Linked DNA regions of Homo sapiens: regions 1, 2 and 4 are each linked to region 3. The links are contacts of gene promoters, found by promoter capture Hi-C in blood cells and fetal thymus (Javierre and others, 2016). All regions are on one chromosome and are shown on one strand. Each heading gives the region's core, a stretch centred on a gene start or on the middle of the fragment in contact. The rest is flanking DNA. Distances are from core to core; before and after follow the strand shown. Region 1 overlaps OSBP2 (oxysterol binding protein 2). Region 2 overlaps OSBP2 (oxysterol binding protein 2). Region 3 holds the start of INPP5J (inositol polyphosphate-5-phosphatase J). Region 4 overlaps OSBP2 (oxysterol binding protein 2).

The links. Contacts are between HindIII fragments. The CHiCAGO score rates a contact against its expected background, and 5 or more counts as called.
Region 1: a contact is called between a fragment that was not itself captured here and the fragment with the promoter of INPP5J in region 3, in 1 of 17 cell types (M1 macrophages). The highest score is 5.8, in M1 macrophages.
Region 2: a fragment that was not itself captured here is called in contact with the fragment with the promoter of INPP5J in region 3 in 1 of 17 cell types (M1 macrophages); the score reaches 7.8 in M1 macrophages.
Region 4: a fragment that was not itself captured here is called in contact with the fragment with the promoter of INPP5J in region 3 in 2 of 17 cell types (M2 macrophages and M1 macrophages); the score reaches 5.6 in M2 macrophages.

What each region holds. Positions count from the first base shown.
Region 1 is chr22:30,754,690-30,760,742 of GRCh38, reverse strand. The region is part of intron 2 of OSBP2 (oxysterol binding protein 2); the gene reads right to left. Among named protein-coding and RNA genes, the nearest start is that of MIR3200, 26 kb to the right of the region's middle. RefSeq lists a silencer at 5,072-5,221. The HindIII fragment of the contact is 7,351 bases long and covers 1-5,181 here.
Region 2 is chr22:30,786,393-30,792,359 of GRCh38, reverse strand. The region is part of intron 2 of OSBP2 (oxysterol binding protein 2); the gene reads right to left. Among named protein-coding and RNA genes, the nearest start is that of MIR3200, 58 kb to the right of the region's middle. The HindIII fragment of the contact is 575 bases long and covers 1,589-2,163 here.
Region 3 is chr22:31,121,619-31,127,492 of GRCh38, reverse strand. It overlaps INPP5J (inositol polyphosphate-5-phosphatase J), which reads right to left and starts at 4,527. Exons shown (of 13, transcript NM_001284285.2): 1 at 4,374-4,527; 2 at 1,483-2,648; 3 at 1,004-1,117; 4 at 772-880; 5 at 456-572; 6 at 1-136. The coding sequence starts at 4,478. The HindIII fragment of the contact is 6,854 bases long and covers 1,175-5,874 here.
Region 4 is chr22:30,842,352-30,848,734 of GRCh38, reverse strand. All of the region lies in intron 2 of OSBP2 (oxysterol binding protein 2), which reads right to left. Among named protein-coding and RNA genes, the nearest start is that of MORC2-AS1, 77 kb to the left of the region's middle. The HindIII fragment of the contact is 5,133 bases long and covers 1-3,900 here.

The DNA of each region.
Region 1 (6,053 bases), core at 257-2,756, 360 kb after region 3:
CAGGGTTCAAGCGATTCTCCTGACTCAGCCTCCTAAGTAGCTGAGACTACAGGTGTGCACCACCATGCCTGGCTAATTTTTGTATTTTCAGTAGAGACAGGGTTTCACCATGTTGGCCAAGCTGCTCTTGAACTCCTGACTTCAAGTGATCTGCCTGCATTGGCCTTCCAAAGTGCTGGGATTACAGGTGTGAGCCACTGCCCCCAGCCCCATTTATTGATTTTCAAACATGGAACCTATCTTGCACCTATCTTGCACTCATCTTGCACTCCTAGCATGAAATCCACTTGATCATGGTGTAATATTCTATTGTATTGCTGGTTTCAAATTGTTAATATTTTGTTGAAGATGTTTTCATCTATGCTCATGAGAAATATTGGTCCGAAGTTTTCTTTTCTTACACTATCTTTGTTCAGTTTGGTATCAGGGTATGCTGTCCTTATAAATGAGTTAGAAATTACTCACTCCTGTAATCCTAGCACTTTGGGAGGCCAAGGCGAGCAGATCACTTGAGGTCAGGAGTTTGAGACCAGCCTGGGCAACAGTGCAAGACTCTGTCTCAAAAAAAAAAAAAAAGCCGGGTGCAGTGGCTCACGCCTGTAATCCCAGCACTTTGGGAGACCAAGGCAGGCGGATCACCTGATGTCAGTAGTTCAGGATGACCCTGGCCAACATGGTGAAACCCTGTCTCTACTAAAAATACAAAAAAAAAAATTAGCTGGGCGTGGTGGCACATGCCTGTAATCCCAGCTACTAAGGAGGCTGAGGGAGGAGAACTGCTTGAACCTGGGAGGCAGAGGTTGCAGTGAGCCAAGACTGCACCACTGCACACTCCAGCCTGGGCAACAGAGCGAGACACTGTCTCAAAAAAAAAAGAAAAGAAAAATTAAAAAAGAAAAGAAATTACTCATTCCTCTTCTGTTTTCTGGAAGAGATTGTGTGGAAATAGTGTTATTCTTTTTTCAAATATTTGATAAAATTTACCTGTGAAATCATGTAGGCCTGAAGACTTCTTTTTTGAAGTGTTTTAAACTATGAATGCAACTTCTTTAATAGTTATAGGATTATTCAGTTTATGGATTTGATCTTGGGCAAGTGTTAGAATTTGATTTTTGAAGAATTGGTTCATTTCATCCAAGTTGTCAAATTTGTCAGCAGAGTTGTCTGTAGCATTCCTTTTATGTATTATGTATCTATTTTATGTTTTTGTAGTATTGTCCTTTTATGTTTGTTAGTGCTATTAATTGTTTATTTCATTCCTGATGTTGGTAATTTGATATTTTCATTTTAGCAGTCTATCAAATAAGTTGGGTTAAGGCCACAGGTAGTGACCAGCCGTCTCTGGGTGGTGGTTTCACTGTTTGTTCCATTTTCAAAGCCTTTGCAGTACTATTTGTTTTTGTTTTTGAGACAGAGTCTTGCTCTGGAGTGCAGTGGTGCAATCTCGGCTCACTGCAAGCTCTGCCTCCCAGGCTCAAGCGATTCTCCTGCCTCAGCCTCCCGAGTAGCTGGGATTACAGGTGTGCACCACCACGCCTGGCTAATTTTTGTATTTTTAGTAGAGACGGGGTTTCACCGTGTTGGCCAGGCTGGTCTCGAACTCCTGGCCTCAAGTGATCCACCTGTCTCGGCTTCCCAAAGTGCCAGGTTACACTGCGCCCGGCCCTTTGCAGTACTAGTTGGATCTGTTCCACATGTGTGCCAGCCAGTGGCCACAGGGACGTGGGTATTCATGCAGCTTTAAGTTCAGTTCTCAAAATCTTTAGTATGCTGTTTAGGATCAGATCCATCCATGTGCGGCTTGAACGTGAAGCCAGGAGTTCATGAAAACAACGTTATGGGGTCACTTTCCCAAGGTGTTCTCTTTCTGTGATTTCCTGTTTTTTTCTGGTTCTCTTGGGCTCTGTTTCAGTCCTCTGGCTGCCCACTTCCCACCACCACACCTATATCGGGGGCTAAGTGGTAGGAAGAGTGAGAGAAAAATGGAACAGGGGTTCCCTCACTTCTTGGGCCCAGAGCTCTTCCTACTGGTGTGCATGGATTCCTCTGAGTTTTTGGTACCTGCAGGCCTCTCATCGCCACTGCTATCACTGACAGGGGACCCTTTCCTCCTTGAGCCTGAACTAGAGGGCTTCTCCAGGAGTTTTCTCTGTCTGCTCACTTCTGGGTCTCCCCTGAGTCCACTCTAGAAGATACTGGAGGGAAAAAATTGTAACCTCACCACCTGTTTGGTGTTACCTCAGATTCTGGTCTTCTCTAGTCTGCTTGTGGCTACTTAATTTTCAGGGTGCTCAAATAGCTGCTCTGTGCATTCTGTCCACATTTTATTTTATTTTATTTTTGAGACAGAGTCTCGCTCTGTCACCCAGGCTGGAATGCAGTGGTGCCATCTCGGCTCACTGCAACCTCTTCCTCCCGGGATCAAGTGATTATCACACCTCAGCCTCCCCAGTAGCTGGACTACAAGCGTGCGCCACCACACCCGGCTAATTTTTGTATTTTTAGTAGAGATGGGGTTTCACCATGTTGGCCAGGCCGGTCTCGAACTCCTGGCCTCAAGTGATCGGCCTGCCTCAGGCTTCCAAAGTGCACGGATTACAGGCATGAGCCACTGTGCCTGGCCCTGTCCATGTTTCATAGCTGCAGAGTGAAACCTTCTCACTTAATCCTACCTGGAACTGGAACTGAGCAGAATTGGATTTTAAAAGACTCACTCTTGCTGTCCAGACTCTGGGAGGTCAGATAGTGAAACTGGGTTGGAGGCCAGGCAGATGGAGGGCAGTGGGCAGATGTGAAAGTGCTCAGGTCTGGCACTGACAGGATCTGCTGACAAGCTGCACATGAGGGATCAGGGAGGGCAGGACTCAAGGTGACACCCAGGTTCACTTCTTAGTCATCTGCCAGGTCTGGAAAGTGACCTGAGACCTTGGCTAGTACAGTTTCAAAGTAGTGAGTGGTGGGTCATATGCAGTGGGAAGAGGCCAGGAGAGAGGTTGAGGCTACAGGAGTGACAAAACAGCAATAAGGCTGGGTGCAGTGGCTCATGTCTGTAATCCCAGCACTTTGGGAGGCCGAGGCGGGCAGACCACTTGAGGTCAGGAGTTTGAGACCAGCCTGGCCAACATGGTGGAACCCTGTCTCTACCGAAAATACAAAAATTAGCCAGGTATGGTGGCACCCACCTGTAGACCCAGCTACTCGGGAGACTGAGACAGGAGAATCACTTGAACCCGGGAGGCGGAGGTTGCAGTGAGCCGAGATCATGCCATTGTACTCCAGCTTGGGCGACAGAGACTCTGTCTCAAAAAAAAAAGAAAAGAAAAGGAAAAAGAAAACAGCGATAAAACCAAGTCCCCCAGCAAGAGGGAGAAAATCACCCTTTGAAGCTGGCACTGCTTCAAAGGGGAGAAATGTCTCCACTGGAATCATTTGGGATTCATATGGCAGGGGGGACGCAGGGAGCGTGTAATGGCAGAGAGCTGAGGGGCTCAGCTGTGGATCTGGTTTTGTTCTATGCATGAGGAAGCAAGATCTTTTGCAGTGTGGCAGGAGGCAGCAGTGAAAATATACAGAGTAGCAAGGACGTCCCTGGGAGATGGGAGAGAAAGGTGGTGAGGGACTCACACAAAGGGGACAGGTACTGATCAAGGCCAGCAGATATTCTGGGTTTGAGGAGTGTGGTCTGCCTGGCTGGGAGGTGTCAACGCACAGCAGATACCCTGCGTTTGAGGAGTGTGGTCTGCATGGTTGGAAGGGGTCACCACACAGCAGATACCCTGGGTTTGAGGAGTGTTGTCTGCATGGCTGGGAGGGTCACTGCAGAACGTGGCTGCATAGCATGTGTACGTGTGCTCAGCAAAGGGCCCTATCACCCCTGCCTGAAGGTAGAAGGTGCAGAACTGACAGGTCATCACCCAAAGACTGACAATGTTACTTCCGTCAGCTGAGTGGCCACCACACTCCAGTGACTGCTGGGCAGTTTGTAGCATGATTTGATTTATCCCTCTTGACAACTCTAAGAGGTTTTTTTTGTTTGTTTGTTTTGTTTTTTTAATGGAGTCTCGCTCTGTCGTCCAAGCTGGAGTGCAGCGGCATGATCTTTGCTCACCGCAAACTCCACCTCCCGGGTTCGAACGATTCTTCTGCCTCAGCCTCCTGAGTAGCTGTGACTACAGGCGTGCGCCACCATGCCCAGCTAATTTTTGTATTTTTACTAGAGACGGGGTTTCACCGTATTGGTCAGGCTGGTCTGGAACTCCTGACCTCGTGATCCGCCCACCTCAGCCTCCCAAAGTCAAAGTGCTGGGGTTACAGGCGTGAGACACCATGCCTGGCCCCTAAAAGGTCTTTATCATTACATACACTTTGTGGGTGAAGAGACAGAGGCAGAGGGACCCACCTTATAAGTGACACAGTCTGGATTTGGGCCCAACCTGTCTAGTGCCTGGGCTGCCCCATGGTTAGACAGAGGACAAACAGGTGTGAAGGAAGCCAGACAACCAGGAGAGAGAGGAAGAACTCACCCCAGCAGGGATGAACCACAGGGCGAGGCCAAGTGAGAAAGGAAAAGAAAAACGCAACTGCCACCTGGAGGAGTCAGATCTGGAAGGGCACTGGAAGGGTAACTGCTGTGGTGGCCAGAACAGGGCTTCTGATTTTAAGATTACTGAGCCAGAGCCCACAGAGTCTGGAGGTGACCATGTGGGGGCAGAGGTGGACAGGGCCTAGTGGGGTCAGGCTGCGTGGGGACTGGTGCTCCACGTTAAGGCACAGCTGAAGATGCAAGAGCATGCCGACCAGGGAACGAGGCCCAGGGGTTGAGGACAAGCTCCATGGCCAAGGGCCCTGGTGGACCTGAGGGCTGAGACGGGTGGGGTGCAATCCTAGCAGAGGCACCAAGACACCAGGATTTGGAAGAATGAGTGGCACAGGGAGGGGAACGCTGAAGAGGGGCACAATCGACCAGTCCCTGGGCCAGGTTTGCCCCTCTTGGAGGGTGGGGGCTGCGTAGGTGAAAGTTCCTTCTCCTGGTTGGACTCTTCTCCCCAGAGGTCTCACATTCTGATGACCCTGTGGGGACCTTATAAAGACAGGTGAGCAAGCCAGCCCTGGTTGACTCAACATGCCCTCAGAAGGGCCTCAATCCAGCCACCAGATGGCAGCTGGAAATAAGACAAAGCTTCCCGAAGTCAAAAGAGGCCTACACTTCGGAAGCTGCTTAAACAACCAATCACACGGTCCTGGGGTTGCCTGATTCCTCATCAGAACAGCAGAAAACTCCATGCCCTTCCTCATATGAATTTTTCTAATAAAGGATAAGAAAGGAATGAGAATCTGATAATAAGGACTCTCTTGAAAGGCTGCTTGGTCCTGTGGTGAGCTCTGGTCTCTCTGGTGATATGGGGCCCTGTACATCTCCAGCCCAGCAGGGAAGTCTCCTGATCTGTGGCCCAGGACATCATCTGAGGTCCCAGCCATCAGCTGCCCAGAGCTCTGCACCCACTCTGCTCTAAGCGCCCCTGTGGGTCTGGCATGCCCAGTGGGTGTAAAGCATGACTGTTTAGTGGCCACGGCCTACACAGCTATAGATCTATAGATGTTGTCCATCAGCAGCTGAGAAGTGCCCACAGGGGGACACAAGTGAGCTGATCCTGGCTAGGGCGTTGGAGATGCGTGTGCTGAAAGCTAAGAGGTCAGGAAGATAGGGTCCCAGCAAGAAAGAGGAGAGGCTGCCCAGCAGAAAGAGTGGGTATACAGGAAGAAAGCAGAGGGGTCAAGGACGGGGAGTTTTTATGAGCTTGAAGACAGATGGGAAGATCAGTGATGGGGACAGGAAGATGTAGTCAGCAGAAAGCTATATGGCAATGGGAGGCTTTGAGATGGGGCAAGGGCAGCCCCAAGAGGCAATGACCAAAGCTGATCCAGAAGCCAGGGGGCTGGACAGGTCAACCCCTGCCCCAGCACAGCAGCAGGAGGTCCATGCAGAGGAGCTCCAGGTGGAGAAGTCAGACACACATGGAGACCCCAAGATGAGGCCGGCGGGGCAGGACAGC
Region 2 (5,967 bases), core at 627-3,126, 330 kb after region 3:
TTATCATGCAAACCATAGTGATTGATAATTCTTTTTTTTTTTTTGAGACAGTAGAGTCTCGCTCTGTCGCCCAGGCTGGAGTGCAGTGGTGCGATCTCAATTCACTGCAAGCTCCACCTCCCGAGTTCAAGCAATTCTCCTGCCTTAGCCTCCTGAGTAGGTGGGATTACAGGCATGTGCCACCACACCTGGCTAATGTTTCGTATTTTTAGTAGAAACGGGGTTTCACCATGTTGGCTAGGCTGATCTTGAACTCCTGACCTCCAGTGATCCACCCATCTCAGCCTCCCAAAGTGCTGGGATTACAGGCATGAGCCACTGCACCTGGCCTGATTGAAACTTCTGTATGCGGTTCCTAAATACTTTGTTTTTTCCTGTTTTGATTATGATATTTTATCATAATCTCTCTGACTCTATATATTTGGTAATACTTATCTATATACCCATTGAGTGATAATAATCTGTATACCCACTGATGTGGGGGCAGAATAAGAGGGTTCTTAAACCATTTATTATAAAGGCTCCTGAAATCCCCACTGGCCTGGGTCTAGCCCTGAGAGATGATGATGACCTTCCTATCTTGCAGCTCTTCCTAGCTAAGACACTCTTCCATTCAACAATTCATTTTTCTCTATCCGCAAAGCAGAATTAAGATTGACAATGTATTTCACAAAACTGTGGCACGGATACATTAAAGAGACAGGACTGATTTTATTTAGAATGCCCCAATATGAGCGGGGCACGGTGGCTCTCGCCTGTAATCCCAGCACTTTGGGAGGCCGAGGCGGGCGGATCACTTCAGGTCAGGAGTTTGAGACCAGCCTGGCCAACATGGTGAAACTGTGTCTCTACTAAAAACACAAAAATTAGCCAGGTTTGGGGGCACACGCCTGTAATCCCAGCTACTCGGGAAGCTGAGGCACAAGAATCGCTTGAACCTGGGAGGTGGAGGTTGCAGTGAGCCGAGATCACACAACTGCACTCCAGCCTGGATGACAGAGCCAGACTCTGTCAAAAAAAAAAAAAAAAAAAAAAAAAGAAGAATCCCCCAATATATAAGCTCCTGCAGCCTGAAAAAGAGATGTGTTGGCTGGGCATGGTGGCTCACACCTGTAATCCCAACAGTGTGGGAGGCCTAGGCGGGTGGATCACATGAGGTCAGGAGTTCAAGATCATGGCCAACATGGTGAAACCCCGTCTCTTCTAAAAATACAAAATTAGCTGGGCATGGTGGTGGGCACTCAGCTACTTGGGAGGCTGAGGCAGGAGAATCATTTGAACCCAGGAGGCGGAAGTTGCCGTGAGCCGAGATCACACCACTGCACTCCAGCCTGGGTGACAAAACAAGAGAGAAACTCTGTCTCAAAAATAAATAAATAAATAAAAAATGAAAGAAAAATAAAAAGAGAAGTTTGAAACAGGGATCACATTGGCCTTGACTGTCCAAATCCTTCCAAGCAAGGAATTTAAAAACCAACAAATGAATCCTATTTCCCCTTCAGGGCAACCACGTGATTCGATGAAGCAAACATAGAGATACGGGAAGGAATATCCCTTAACGGATTTTTAAATTGTTCATCCAAAAGCTTATTGGTCCTGAAATGACCCTTAACCACATTTGTCAGTGGATTCTCAGTAAATTACCACATATCAAAAAAATTTCCTTTAACCTATAAAGTATGCTCCCTCTTTTTTTTTTTTTTTTTAATGCAGTTTGACATATCTCTTCAGGTTTGCTTTTGCATCTGGCTTACAGTCTTGCTGAAAAACTGCCTGGAAGCTACAGACACATGAGCAAGCAGCAGTAGAAACTGCCTTGGAGCAACCACATGTGTGTGCGCACACACACAATCTCTCCAAGTGCAGCTACCAAACTGAAGTCTCCTTGAATTCCCAAGACTAATGAGGAGCCTCTGGCTTTGTCCTCTTTCCCATGCCCCTCCAAATCCATCACGGATCATGTGTATGGAAACTAGAAGAGTGGCCAAAACCTCTACAAACTGGCTGATGTAGTTTCAAGCTGTCAAATCTTTTCTATGCTTTCCCCGCCCCCCCCTCCTTAAAAAGTGGGTCCACAGCAGTGCCATGTATTTTCATGTGGCTGCAGATTCAAAGTCTTTCCTGAACCCGGAATCCCTGTAGGCCAGGGCCAAAGGTGAAGCTTGAGAGGGCACAAAGAATAAGCCCTGTGCGTCATCCACATCACCTCCAGCCCAAGACACCCACACCCAATGGGCCACTCCAACAAAACCCATCTGCTGACCCAAGGGGCTGCATCCTCCTTCTGCAGCCCAGTCACCTTGTAGCACGGAGATGGGGTCACCCTCTCCCCTTGCACATTGCTTCTTTCAGATGATAGCCATTGTCACATGTATAGAGGGGTACACAAGAAACAACACATGTTTTCACCGAGATTCACATTCCTCTTACCCTCAAAGAGCATGGCACAAAATAAAATTAAACTGTGATCTAAAATGGGAACAAAGTTTTTACTGGTGGAAGATGCAAAGCTGTTGCAGACAAAGAATCTCAAGGGCAGACCCTCCTTCTTAGAGAGCATTTCTCCCTGCCTGTGCTCTTGGGGCTGGAATTGAAGTCTGTCCACCTTCTGGTCACTGGTACTGCCTTCTGGAAAGTCTGCACCCAAACCATCTCCAGCTAAACCATTTTCTTCCCTCTTAGGGTCCTCCAACAGCCTTGGAAGCCTAAAGAAATGCTTGTTCCAATGGGTGATCCATACACAGCTGTACCGGACTGTCCGTAGGCTCTTCCCGTTTTTTTCTGATTTTTATATGCTCTGTAAGTTAACTTCTCTTTTACAAGTATCTGAGTTTATGGGGTCAATGACGAGGAAATCACTCATTCACTTGTGTTAGCTGCAGGCTCCTGGAAATGGTGGAAAATTTGAACTTGTGTAGAGAAAGCAGACCGGAGCCCACTTCTAAAAGACAGCAGATTTCATGGCCTATGAAATCCTGGCTTCTGAATGCCCAGAGAATGTGGCCCCCACTTGCTTGCCAGATTCAGGCCCCCTCTCTCTTGTCAAGGTTGGACTTCTTCCCAGATCCTCTCTCCTACAACCTCGAGGCTGCATCTCAGAGACAACACAGTGAAGCCTCTGAGAGCCGTTGAGCACTGAAGTTCTTCTAAGAGGATGCAACAAAACTTTCACCACTCAGCACCAGGAGCAAGCATTTCCTATTCATCTGTTCCTGCAGGGACATGGTCTCCGAGATGGTCAACTGACTCTCCAGACATACTATAAATGGGCTAATGCCGAGTAATTTTTTTGCCCTTTCATGTCATCACATGTAGATTTCTCCAAAGCTATTAAAAATAAATTGTTTGGCCAGGTGTGGTGGCTCACGCTTGTAATCTCAGCACTTTGCGAGGCTGAGATGGGCGGATCACCTGAGGTCAGGAGTTTGAGACTAGTCTGGCCAACATGGCGAAACCCCAACTCTACTAAAAACACAAAAATTAGCCGGGTGTGGTGGCAGGCGCCTGTAATCCCAGCTACTCGGAAGGCTGAGGCAGGAGAATCGCTTGAACCCGGGAGGCAGAGGTTGCAGTGAGCTGAGATGGTGCCACTGCACTCCAGCCTGGGTGACAGAGCAAGACTCCATCTCAAAAATAAATAAATAAATAAAATTGTTCACCCTCCAAGATGCCCTGACTTAAAAGTCAACATGTACAACTTATTAATTAACACAGTCCTTGGCATTAGAGACTCATTATGCTGGAGCTACGGTGATAATCTAATTTTTCATGAAAGGACACATGTAATTGTGGGAGCTCTGCATGTCTAGGCCACAGCAAAATCATTTTGTGCTCCTTTTTGTATCTGTCAGATTAAATCATATGAGAGGCCTTGGCTGGTCTGTCAGCTGCCCCAGAGCTCATTCTGGCTGTTTGACTGAGGGCTCTGAGTGAAAGCTCCCCACGTTGCAAATGGCTGGCCTCTCTCTACTGCTGGATTCTCCTTGGAGGAAAATCTTCCATGGGAACTGGGTAGGATTCTGTGTTGCTTTGGCAGCAACTGCAGAATGATTAACATGGCACTGGGGAAACTGTATATAAAAGGATATGGTAGCACTCCCGTCCTCTTCCTCTTCCTACTCAGCAGGAGAAGACGCTTTGCAGCTGATCAAACTGTCCCCACCATCACCATCACTGTCACTTGTACTGAGGCCATATGGACCAGGTATGGCGCTGACACTTCACACATCCTCACAACAGCCCTAGTTTTCAAATAAAGGAACTGAAGATGGGGGAGGTTATTTGTTCTAGGTTACATGGCTGGTAAATGACATGATTGAGACCCCAGTCCTGTTCAGTTAAGCCCAGACATGGAGCTTGGCTCTGCCTACTGAAGCGCTCTCAGTCTCCATGCTTCTGTCCTTTCCCACTGTCAAGACCCTCCGACACTACCGTCTGTCACTAAGACCCACGGGCCCCTCGGCCACTGTCCTGCCTTGCTCCGAGAGTACCAGGCTCCAGCTAACACCCCTCCAAGGTTCTTTTGATACTCGAGAGCCAGTGGTGATATGGTTTGGCTTTGTGTCCCCACCCAAATCTCATCTTCAATTGTAATCCCATAATCCCCATGGTGGGAGGGACTCTGTGGAAGGTAACTGAATCATGGGGGCAGTTCCCCTATGCTATTCTTTTTTTTCTTTTTTCTTTTTAGACAGAGTATCCTTCTGTTACCCAGGCTGGAGTGCAGTGGCACGATCTCAGCTCACCAAAACCTCCACCTCCCGGGTTCAAGTGATTCTCATGCTTCAGCCTCCCGATTCGCTGGGATTACAGGCATGCACCACCATGCCCGCCTAATTTTTGTATTTTTAGTTGAGATGGGGTTTCACCATGTTGGTCATGCTGGTCTGGAACTCCTGACCCCAAATGATCCACCTGCCTCGGCCTCCCAAAGTGCTGAGATTACAGTCGTGAGCCACCGCATCCGGCCCCGACCATTCTATTCTCGTGATAGTAAGTTATCACGAGATCTGACGGTTTTATAAGGGGCTTCCCCCTCCTCTTAGCTCCCATTCGTCTCCTTCCTGCCGCCATGTTAAGAAGAATGTGTTTCCTTCCCCTTCCGCCATGACTGTAAGTTTCCTGTGGCCTCCCCAGCCATACTCAACTGTGAGTCTATTAAACCCCTTTCCTTTATAAATTACTTAGTCTTGGGTATGTCTTTATTAGCAGTGTGAGAACGGACTAACACAGGTGGAGAATCTGACTGGTAAGACCTTTCCTGACCGGGCACAGTCGCTCACGCCTGTAATCCCAGCACTTTGGGAGGCCGAGACAGGCGGATCACCAGGTCAGGAGATCGAGACCATCCTGGCTAACACAGTGAAACCGTGTCTCTACTAAAAATACAAAAAATTAGCCTGGTGTGGTGGCACGTGCCTGTAGTCCCAGATACTTGGGAGGCTGAGGCAGGAGAATCGCTTGAACCTGGGAGGCAGAGGTTGCAGTGAGCCGAGATTGCACCATTGCACTCCAGCCTGGGCAACAGAGCAAGACTGTACAAAACAAAACAAAACAAAACACCTTTCCTGATGCATGTTTTGCCCTGCTAGTCTCTCCAGCCTCATCTTGAGGCATCCCCACCCCACCCCACCCCACCCCCACCCTCTGCTCCTGCCACCAATGAGGTGTCTTTAGCTCTCTGAACAGCCAGGATCTCCCCAACCTCTGGGCCTCATTTTCAATTGTACTCCTCCTATCTTCAACAAGTGAATTCCTCCTCACCCTTTAGATCTCAGCTTACATATCACCTCCTCTAGGCAACCTTCCCGACCCTCAAAACTGGGCTAGGTGCCTTTCACCATGGTGAAGCATTGGGCCATTGCATCATGATTTTGTATTGGTTTGTCTGTCTCCCCACAGCAGGCAGTGGGGTCTCTGGCAGGTGTCATTGATTTTTGTTTTCCATGACTCCTCACCTCCTAGTGC
Region 3 (5,874 bases), core at 3,278-5,777:
GCTGGAGGCTGAGGATGGTCTGGAAGTTGTCTTTGCGCTGCTCCGCCTTGTCCATATGCGCAGGCAAGTGGCAGTTCAGGAAGCAGAGCATGTGCCCGAAGGCCGCCAGGCGCACGCTCACGCCACCCTTGTTACCCTAGGGAGGCAGGGTCGGATGGCTCATGGGCGGGGCTTAGGCCAGGAGGTGAGGCACTGGGAGCGGGGGTTAGAGAGGAGATGTGGGTGGAAGGTGGGTGGGTCCTACAGAAATGAGGAACAACGCTGGGACACAGTGGGGAGAGAAAAGGGCGGGGGTATAGAGGAATAGGATGGGGTATTGGGTGGTGCATGGGGGGGCTGGGCCGCAGGGTAAAGGGTGGAGGATGGGAAGGGGACCTTGCTGTGCATGGGGCGGGGGGACTAATCTAAAGCCCCCTTCATGTCCCATCCTCTTCTGGGCCTGCTCACAGGCTCACCCAGTAGCCGCCCAGGCCAGTGCGCGTGCAGTCGGTCTGCACGTCTCGCAGGAAGGGCAGGTGGTAGTACTTGGCGAACAGCAGCAGGATGACACCCTGCATCCTCACCGAACTCACCTGCAGCGGGAGGCCACGTGGCTGGGGGACAGAACACAACTCCCCCGCCCTCGCGCCCACCTTCAGGTCTGCTCCTCCACCCACCCATGTCACGGACCCAGCCACAGAGGCCCAGCGGGCCCCACAGTGAGCCAGGGTACAGCTGGAGCCAGGAATTCAGCAGGGTCTCTGGCTGTCCAGGGGGTGAGGGGTGCGTTACCAGCACGAAGTTGAAGGGCCCTAGCGCATCCATGAACAGCTCACTCCACTGGTCCGTGAAGAGGGCGTCCTTGAGTCGCTTGTTGAGCATGGAGTTCACTTCCTGCAACCTGGAGGGGTGGGGGCAGGGTGGCCATGGGATTGGAGAGGTGCCCTGGAAGCCCCTGCCATGGGTGGAGGGCCCGGAAGGCCCGAGGGGCTCAGGAGGGGGTCCACATGCCCTGCCACCTCACCCTATGGCGATCATGTCTGCGCCGTCGCTGTCGTCACCACCGCCCAGGTGGAGGAGGGATGTGACATCGTCTGGGGGCATGGCAGTGCCCACGTTCCATGTGACCACAGTGATCCTGAGGGCAGGGGCATATGAGGGTGTAGTCCTGGCACCACTCCCTCACCCTCAAGCTTCCTTTCACAGGACTCCCTGGGGAACTAAATGGAGGCAGGTGTGGGCCAAAGCCCTAAGAAGGACCCACAGGAGGCCCCGAATCCTGTCCCTCTGCCACACTCTCCCTGGGGAGATCAACTGAGAGGCGGCAAGTTCCTTAGGAGGGGATGCTATCTTCTGAGCGTCACAGAGTGGGCCCAGCAACCCCCTCCCCAAAGACTCTTCCTCAGAGAGAGAAGCTGAGGTAGAGCACACCATCCACCCTGGAAGAATGGCTAACCTCAGAGCTAAGCCCCAGCCACCTTTCTTGGGAGAGGGCCCCCTCACCGGAAGCCGGGGTCGCTCTTCCAGGTAGGCTGAGCTGACCAAGGGGAGGATGACAGGGTGGATGTAGAAGAGGAGGTGGTGACTGGGGCTGGGGCTTCTTGGGCCTGAAGGTTGGGGCTCAGGCACCTGCCAGGCCCTGTACTCTGTGTGCCAAGCCTTGGGAGGGCCATGTCAGGGGCTGGGGGAACACAGGGAGAGCGATTCGGGGAGTGGCTTGGGGAACGGCTGGGTGATCGGGGTGGCTTGGGCAGAGGTGGGGGCACAGTCTGGCCTGAGGGGGCCCCAGGCCGGAAGGTGGGGGACAGAAGTCCAGGGGAGTGAGTGCCAGGCTCTGAAGGACCCTGGCCCACATCCAAGGGCAAGGTCTGGGGTGGCCGTGGCAAAACAGGATCCTCAGGGCTGCTGTGGAGGGCCTCAGGCCGGGCTCGGAAGGAGGGGGAGAGCCGAGGGTCTGGGGAGGTTTGGATGCAGGGTGGGGAGCCTGTAGGACCAGATGTCTGAGCTGGAGGCTGGAGATGCCCCTCAGAAGCAGGGAGAGGTCTAGGGGCTGGGGCATCCCTCTTTCTAGCTGATGTCTGTCCCACAGAGGCTGCGCCTGATGCCGTGGATGCTGGAGCCAGGGCCTGTTCCTGAGTTGGAGACAGAACTGGACTGGGCACCGGGGAAGGGGTGGAGGGGAGTTCTGGGGGCTGCTCCTCAGAAGCCAGGGCCAGGCTCAGGCCAGAGGCTGCCAGTGTTGGCTTGGGTCCCACGGAGGCAGGTGGCTCCTGCTTCTGGTCTCTGGAGGTTGGGGCCAGATTGGGCCCCAGGGTGACTGGGGGAGATCTTGGCCCTGCTGAGGCAGGCATCACCAGCCCCAGGGACGTCGGAGCCAGAACTGAGCCTGTGGTCGCTGGGGGAGGCTTTGGTCCAGCTGAGGCAGACATCACCAGCTGGCCCACAGATGTTGGGGCCAGGCTGGAGCTGCGGTGGGCAGTAGCTGTTTTCTGCCCTTCAGGGGTACACAGTGGAGCCAGGATTGGTCGGGGAGATGCCAGAGCCAGCCTCGGTCCTTCCGAGGAAGCTGACATAGCTGCCCGTGGCCCTACAGGTGCCAGAGCCAACCTTGGTTCCGAGGGTCCTAGGGCTGCGTTCTTCTTTGCTGGGAGCTGAAAACTTGAGTCCACCTTGTGGAGGACAAGTCAAAGATTCAGAGTGACCCTAACCAGGGCATTGGGCCCCAACTTCCATATAGACCCTGGCAGAGTTCATCTAGCTAAGAAAGGCACATCTTTCCAAGGAAGTTCTTCCTACTATCTCACTTCAATCTATTCTGCTGCAGGTCAACTTCTGTCTTGGAGGAGATAGGACACAAAACCCTAACCCCTCCTTTAAGTCTGAAACCTCTTTCACAGATGGGGAAACTCAGACCCTGACTCAAATGAGGCAGAGTGTGAACCTAAACCTGAGGACTTGCCTTGCCTTCCTGGCTGGCACCCACACCCTGCCCATTCGGGGCAGCTTCCCTGGGCAACCCTCCCACTGCAGTCCCTGAAGCTCCCCCAGCCACGGCTACTGACCTGACATCCCAGGTCTGGGCACACTGGGGACAGCCTGTTTCTTTTCTTTTTCTATTGTCAAGATACAGACCTACAGGTGCAGCTTGTTAAATACCTCTCCCTTCCTTCATAATGCCCAGAAACCCTCAGTTCCCCACCGCCCCCTAAACATCCAAATCCCTTGGTTACAGCCCTCTCTGTTCTCTTACCCATTCCCAGAGCTCCACTCAGGAGCAAGAGCTGGGAGCTGAGACTGGCTGTGTAGATTCAAAGCCCAGCTCTGTGTGACCTTAGGCAAGTACCTCTCTGCCCAGCGCCTCAGTTTCTCTGTCTGTAAAATGAAGGGATGGGGTCTAGGGTTCCTGGCCACATTATATTCTGGGGAATCTTCATCTCCCATTGTCTGCATTTATGAGCCCAACATTTGCTAGAATTCCATCTAGCCCCGTTGAATAGTCCATCCTCACCAAGTGTGAATCTAGCATTCAGAGCAAGTCCAGGATTCTAAGTTGATCCTGGTGTCACATCTCTCTGTGCCCAGGTTGTGCCCTCTTACATCCTCCACTTTCTCCCCTACCTGAAAGGACAGGCAAGCAGGTATCCCATTTATGTCCGGCAGGTGGGAGGGGTGGGGAGTCACGGAGTCCTGTAGAGACCTATCCTCCTTCCCCATCTATTCTCTCTGATGTCCCCTGTCTCCAGAAGACAGGATAAAGTGTCCTTCACCAAGGAGGGCAGAAGAATGTCTATACTTGCCCCAGGATGGCCCTAGGTAGGGTAACAGGGCGCAGGGAGGCCCTGCCTCTGGAGACGCACTTCTGTTTCTGTCCCGTATCCTTCTCAGTTCAGAGTACCTAAAACTCCATCTCCACCTCCCTTCTCAAACTCAGTTCTTTGAGGTGGCATTTTAGGCACCCTCCTTGGCTCCAAGTGTCACACTGTGTGCCGGCTTCCCCCCAACTATCACACCGCCTCCAGTACTAACAACTTAGCCATCCCAGATGTCACAGTTTTAGTCTTCAGCGACAAGCCCCCTCATTTTGCATTGGCTCAGAGAGGAAAAGCAACTTGGCCAAGGTCACACAGCAAAGGTGGAGCACAGCTGGGTCCTCTGATACCCAGTCCAGGACTCTCCCAAGGGCTCCTGGAGATGGCTAACTTCATCTGTCTCCGGGCATCCTGTCACTGCCCCTCAGCCCCCAGGGTGCTCTCTTCACCTAGCCCCTGCTCGCTGAGCAGAGGAAAGTACCAGCCCCTCAGTCAGGAGCACCAGGGAGCCTGCAGTGTATGTGGGGGGGGTGTGTGGAACCAGGGATCAGGAAAGCGGGGGGCACTGGGTCTCAGGGGTCTTACCTTGGAGGGTGCCCCAGTTTGGGCAACACCCTGGGGCATGGGCAGGGAACCCAGGCCAGCCCGGGTCCCTGGCCTCCTGCTGCCCCTGCTGCTCTGGCCCTCCATGTCTGCAGCCCCCGGCAGCCTGGACTCCCTTGGCTCCGGCTCCAGCTCTACCGCTCCCGGGAACCAGTGATGTCATCAGCCATTTCAACCTGCTGAGAATTTAAAGGCACAGGCTCCCACTTCCCAGCCTGGAAGAGGCCGAAGCAAGGTGGCTACCCCCTGGGAATCCTTCAAACTGGCTGCTGAGGCTGGAACAGCCATGGAGTGGGGAGGGGAGAGTGTACCCATCTGCCTGGCCCAGGTCCCAACTGGCAGCAGGAAGGAGGCTGTCTGTCTACCTTCACCTTTCTGCCGTAGGCCTGGTCAGCCCTTTGCTCCAGGGAGGGGCATTAACACACCTGCCTTAAGGTAGGACAGGTGGTTCAGAGGTCTGCACCCTCTCCAGGGCCTCAGAGACAACTGAGTTCTTGCCCTGATCCTGTGACCTTCCTGGCTCCCTGCCAGCTCAGAGCTTGCCCCGGCCCCCACCCTTGCCCCATTTTCAGGTCTTGGTGCCACCCTCTCCACTCCTACTGCCAGTCCCAGGCTCTATTCTTCCCAACCCAGAACCAGACACTCAGGCTCCAGCCACTGCAGTCTTTTCCCATCTCAGGCCTCAGCACCAGCCCCTCCTCTTCTGCAGACACCTAGCTGCCCTCAGATGTCCCCACAGCCAGGCCTAACCCAGCCCGGCTTCTGTCAGCTTTCTTCTCTCCAGTATTCACTGGGTGTGGTTTGGGAGGGGAACTTGCTCAAGGTCACCTGGTGAACTGAGAAGGTCTCCTGTGTTTCAGTGAGAAAACTTAGTGACCTAGGATGAGCACAAGCCCTTCGAGCTATCTGGGGGAAGGGAACTTGGGTGGAGAAGGGCCCAGCAGTGGGGTAACAGACTGACAAGAGAGTTACAAACAGGCCTGAGAATTGCTACAGCCAGGACCCAGCCCAGGACATGGTCCCCAACAGGCCTACGGGAGTGTTTGTTGAATGAATAAATGAATTAGAAGAGTGAATGGGTGATGAGGGTCAGATTGGGCTGGGATGGCTGTGGGATCTGTTTCTCATGGCTTAGAGAGGAGTGATCCCACCCACTTTAGGCAGAAAGTGTTCAGAGTTGTGTGTGCAGAGCTCCCTGTTAACCAACATGGAGCATCTGCATGGGCCTGTGCAGTCTCCTACATGAAGGCAGATGCCTCACTTTCCTCTCCTGAAGGCACTTCCTACCTCTGCTTGACTGTCAGTAGGTCTAGTCTGTATTCTCAGGCCAGCATCTCTGCTGGAATTTGCAGGGGCAGAGACTCAGGCCATATTAGAGTGTTGGGGTAGAAAGGTCTTTGGACAGCGATAGTGGAGATGGTGACAGTGGTGACGGGGAAGGCGACTGTGGTGATGGATGTGATGATGTATGTAACTGTGATGA
Region 4 (6,383 bases), core at 85-2,584, 280 kb after region 3:
AACATGGATGAACCTCAAAAGCATGATACTGAATGAAAGAGGGCACACGTCCTATTGTTTGATTTCATACAATGGAATTCTAGAACAAGTAAAACTATAGTGCATAAAGATCAGTTGCTATCTAAAGCAAGATGTTGGGGGATATTGACTGCAAAGAGGTATGAGAAAACTTTTGGGGATGATTAAAATGTTCTATATCTTTTTTAGGGTGGCAGCTACACAGGTGTATACATGTCAAAACTCAAAGAACAGTTAAAATCAGTTCATTTTGTTGCATTTAAATTCAATAATAATAAGGTTGATTTAAAAAGGAAAAAAAGGACAACCATTTACTGATCCAGTTCTAGTCATTTATCCTACAGACATACAGATATACATATGACCAAATATTGATATATATAAATGTACATTTCAAAACTGTTTGCAATAGCTTTTAGGACAGTTTTTGGGATGGAAACATTCAGCACTGTTTGCAATAGCTTTTAGGATGCTTTTTAGAATGAAACATCCTAAAAGCACTATTTGCAATAGCAAAACATCTGGAAACGCCCTAAATGCCCTTCAAAAAGAGACTGGTTATTTAAACTATGAAACATGAATATAACAGAATATTATATAGCTGTTAGGGAATCTAATGGAACTCTGTGTACTAATATGGAAAAAACCTTTAAGACATAGTCAGTGAAAAAGATCAAGGAGCAAAACAGTATGTATACTATAATTCTATTTACTTTTCATAGGGTATCTATAGTATATGTGTTTTAAAAGAATGTATAAGAAAAACAGTATATAAAAATAATAAAACAAAAATCCAATTCCTTGAAAATATCAATAAAATCTATAAACCTCTAGCCAGATTGAGGACGAAAAAAGAATGATACAAATGACTAATATCAGCAATGAAAGAGGGGAAATCACTACAGATCTCACAGACAAAGAACAACAAGGAAATATCATGAGCAACTTTTTGCTCACAAACTTGACAACTTAGACAAAATAAACAAAGCCTTGAAATACAAACATACCAAAACTCACTCATAAAAAAAACCTGAGGAGTCTATTAATGAAATTGATTCTATAGTTTAAAATCTTACAACAGAAAACTCAGGGCTCAGAAGGCTTTGGTGAAGAAGTCTACCAAATATTTAAGAATTAGGCTGGGCACGGTGGCTCACACCTGTAATCTCAGCACTTTGGGAAGCTGAGGCGGGTGGATCACGAGGTCAGGAGTTCGAGACCAGCCTGGCCGACATGGTGAAATCCCATCTCTACAAAAAATACAAAAATTAGCCAGGCGTGGTGGTGGGCACCTGTAGTCCCAGCTGCTCGGGAGGCTGAGTCAAAAGAATTGCTTGAACCTGGGAGGTGGATGTTCCAGTGAGCCGAGGTCATGCCACTGCACTCCAGCCTGGGTGAACAGCAAGACTCCCTCTCAGGGAAAAAGAAAAAAGAATGAGCCTGGGTGCAGGTGCCTCAGGCCTGTAATTCCAGCACTTTGGGAGGCCGAGGTAAGAAGATCACCTGAGTTCAGGAGTTTGAGACCAGCCTGGCCAACAAAGTGAAACCTCATCTCTACTAAAAATACAAAAATTATCTGGGTATGGTGGCAGGTGCCTGTAATCTCAGCTACTTAGGAGGCTGAGGCAGGAGGATCATTTGAACCTGGGAGGTGGAAGTTGCAGTGAGCCAAGATTGTGCTACTGTACTCCAGCCAGGGTGATTGAGAAAGACTCCATCTCAAAAAATAAATAAATAAATAAATAAAATTTAAGAGTGAAATAATATCAATTCTACACAGACCAAGGACCTAAACCAAAGATCACAAAAAAAGAAAACAACAGACCAATATACCGCATGAACAAAGACACAAAAATACTCAGAAAAGTACTAGCAAATTGAATCCAGCAATACATAAAAAGTATAACACATATTAAGTGAGGTTTCTTCCAGAAATGAATGTTGGTTCAATGATGAAATATCAATAAAAGATAACCAAACTTAAAAATGGTATTTGAATAGACATTTCTCCAAAGTAGATACACAGATATCTTCTTCGGTCAATAAACACATGAAAAAATGCTCATGTCATTAGTTATTAGAGAAATGTAAATCAAAACCAGAGTGAGAGGGAGGGAAGGGGATTAAAAAAAAAACCCACAGTGAGATACTAGCATTTCCCACCTACTAGGATGGCTATTATCAAAAGAGCAGAAAATAACAAATATTGGTAAGGATGTGGGAAAATTGGAACTCTCATACTGTGGGAATGTAAATAGTACAATCAGGCTGGGTGCGGTGGCTCACACCTGTAATCCCAGCACTTTGGGAGGCCAAGGCGGGTGGATCACTTGAGGTCAGGAGTTCAAGACCAGCCTGCCTGGCCAATATGGTGAGACCCTGTCTCTACTAAAAATACAAAAATTGGCCAGGCATGGTGGTGCATGCCTGTAATCTCAGCTACATGAAAGGCTGAGACAGGAGAATTGCTTGAACCTGGGAGGCAGAGGTTGCAGTGAGCCAAGATTACACCACTGCACTCCAGCTGGGTGACAGAGTTGAGACCCTGTCTCAAAAAAATAATGTAAGATAAAATAAAATAAAATAAAATGATATGATCACTTTAGAAAACAGTTGGGCAGTCATTATATAACCCAGCAATCCCACTCCTAGGTATACACCCAAGAAAAATGAAAACATATATCCACACAAAAACTCACACATGAATGTTCATAGCAGCATTGTTCATTATGGGCCCAAAGTTAATGTCCATCAACTGATGAATGGATAAAGGCAGTATACAGGCATACCTCTTTTATTCTGCTTTGCAAATACTGCCTTTTTTTTTTTTTTTTTTTTGAGAGAGTCTCACTCTGTCACCCAGGCTGGAGTGCAGTGGCACGATCTCAGCTCACTGCAACCTCCACCTCCTGGGTCAAGCAATTCTTCTGCCTCAGCCTCCCAGGTAGCTGGGATTACAGGCACGTGCCACCACACCTGGCTAATTTTTGTATTTTTGGTAGAGATGGGATTTCACCATGTTGACCAGGCTGGTCTCGAACTCCTGACCTCATGATCTGCTCACCTCGGCCTCCCAAAGTGTTGGGATTACAGGTGTGAGCCACCGTGCCTGGCCGTCCCCCACCCCCACTTTTTTTTTTTTAAACAAATTGAAGGTCAGTAGCAACCCTGCATTGAGCAGGTCTATTGGTGCCATTTCTTCAACATCATAGGCTCACTTCATGTCTCTGTGTCACATTTTGGTAATTCTTACAATATAACAATTTATTTATTTATTTATTTATTTAATTTCTGAGATGCAGTCTCACTCTTGTAGCCCAGGCTGGAGTGCAATGGCACGATCTCAGCTCACTGCAACCTCTGCCTCCCAGGATCAAGCAATCCTCCTGCCTCAGCCTCCTGGGATTACAGGCACCTACCACCACGCCTGGCTAAGTTTTTGTATATATGGTAGAGACGGGTTTCACCATGTTGGCCATACTGGCTGTAAACTCCTGACCTCAGGTGATCCGCCCACCTTGGCCTCCCAGAGTACTGGGATTGCAGGTGTGAGTCACTGCACCCGGCTAAACTTTTTCATTATTATATCTGTTATGATGATCTGTTATCAGAGATCTTTGATGTTACAGCTGTAATTGCTGGAGTGCAACAAACCACATCCATATAAGATGGCAGACTTAATCAATAAATGTTGTATGTGTTCTGACTGTTCCACTGACCAGCCATTCCCCCATCTCTCTCCTTCTTGAGCCTCCCTTTCCTGAGACACAACATTATTGAAATTAGGCCAATTAATAACCATACAAAGGCCTCAAAGTGTTCAGGTGAAAGAAAGAGTTGCATGGCTCTCACTTTAAATCAAAAGCTAAAAACCAGTAAGCTTAGTGAGGAACTCATGTTGAAAGTTAAGACAGGCCCAAACCTAGGCCTCTTGCACTAATTAGCCAAGTTATGAATGCAAAGGACATGTTCTTGAAGGAAATTAAAATTGCTACTCCAGTTAAGACATAAATGATAAGGGAAACAGTCTTATTGCTGATAGAAAGTTTTAGTGGTCTGGATAGAGGATCAAACCAGCCATGACATTCCCTTAAGCCAATACCTAATCCAGAGCAAGCCCTTAACTCTCTTCAGTTGTATGGAGGCTGACAGAGGTGAGGAAACTGCAGAAGAAAAATCTGAAGCTAGTAGAGGTTGGTTCATGAGGTTTAAGGAAATAAGCCATCTCCATGACCTAAAAGGGCAAGGTGAAGCAGTAAGTGCTGATGTAGAAACTGCAGCAAGTTATCCAAAAGATCTAGCTAAGATAATAGATGAAGGTGGCTACATTACACAACAGGGTTTCAATGTAGATGAAACAGTCTTCTGTTGGAAGAAGATGTCATCTAGGGCTTTCATAGCTACAGAGGAGAAGTCAACGCCTGACTTCAAAGGACAGGTTGGCTCTTCTTAGGGGACAATGCGGCTGGTGACTTTAAGTTGAAGCTAATATTCATTTACCATTCCAAAGACCCTAGGGCCCTTAAGAATTATGCTAAATTTGGCCAGGCGCGGTGGCTCATGCTTGTAATCCTACCACTTTGGGAGGCCAAAGCGAGCAGATTGCTTGAGCACAGGAGTTCGAGACCAGCCTGGGTGACACAGTAAAACTCTGTGTCTACAAAAAATACAAAAGTAAGCTGGGCATGTTGGTGTACACCTGTGGTCCCAGCTACTCGGGAGGTTGAGGTAGGAAGATCACCTGAGCCCAGGAAGGTGAAGTCTCCAGTGAGCTGTGATCCCTCCACTGCACTCCGGCCTGGGTGACAGAGTAAGATCTTGTCTCAAAAAAAAAAAAAAAAAATTGTTTGAGACAGGGTCTCACTCTATTACCCAGGCTGGAGTGCAGTGGCACGATCCTGGCTCACTGCAACCTCCAACTCCTGGGCTCAACTGATCCTCCCACCTCAGCCTTCCAAGTAGCTGGGACTACAGGCACACACCACCATGCTGGGCTGATTTTTATTTTTTATTTTGGTAGAGATGGGGTTTCACTATGTTGCCCAGGCTGGTCTTAAACTCCTGAGCTCAAGTGATCTGCCCTCCTTGGCCTCCCACAGTGCTGGGATTACAGGCATGAGCTACAGTTCCTGGCTGAATTATTCTAAATTTATTCGGCCTATGCTCTATAAATGGAACAATGAAGCCTGAATGACAGCACACCTGTTTATAGTGTGGCTTATGGAATATTTTAAGCCCACTGTCAGGACCTATTGCTCAAGGGGGAGGGGGGAAAGATTCCTGAAAACGTACTGTGGCTTCCAGCAGGGTCCCTGGGAGCACTGCCAGTTTGGCAAATGAAGCTTGCAAAATACTGGACAATGTGGGAGCCTGGCTTCAGGGCGTCTACGAATTTGCCACCAATGGGGTCTCTGGAAATGATTCACTCTCTTAGACACCATTAAGAACATTGGTGATTCATGGGAGGAGGTCAAAATATCAACATTAACAGAAGTTTGGAAGAAGTTGATTCCAACCCTCCAGGATGACTTTGAGGGGTTCAAGACTTCAGTGGAGGAAGTAACTGCAAATGTAGTAGAAATAGCAAGAGAATCAGAATTAGAAGTGGAGCCTCAAGATATAACTGAATTGCAGGCCGGGTGCGGTGGCTCACACCTGTAATCCCAGCACTTTGGGAGGCTGAGGTGGGTGGATCACTTGAGGTAAGGAGTTTGAGACCAGCCTGGCCAACGTGGTGAAACCTCGTCTCTACTAAAAATAAAAATAAAAATTAGCCAGGTGTGGTGGCACACTCCTGTAATCCCAGCTGCTCAGGAAGCTGAGGCAGGAGAATCGCTTGAACCCAGGAGATGGAGGTTGCAGTGAGCCGAGATTGCGTCACTGCACTCCAGCCTGGCTGGATGACAGAGCCAGACTCCTTCAAAAAAAGAAAGAAAGAAAGAAAGAACGAACTGAATTGCTGAAATCTCATGACAAAACTTGAACGAATAAAGAGTTGCTTCTTACGGATGAGCAGAGTGGTTTCTTGAGATGAAATCTAATCCTGGTGAAGATGCTGTGAACACTGTTGAAATGATAACAAAGGATTCAGAATATTACATCAACTTAGTTGAAAAAGCAGTGGCAGGGTTTGAGAGGATTGATTCCAATTTTGAAAGAAGTTCTACTGAGGATAAAATGCTATCAAACATGGCACAGAGAAATCGTTTGTGAAAGGGAGAGTTGACTGATGTGGCAAACTTCAGTGTTGTCTTATTTTCAGAAATTGCTGCAACCACCCCAACCTTCAGCAATCACCACGCTGATCAGTCACCAGCCATCAACATCAAGGCAAGGCCCTCCACCAAGAAAAAAAACTGGCTGAA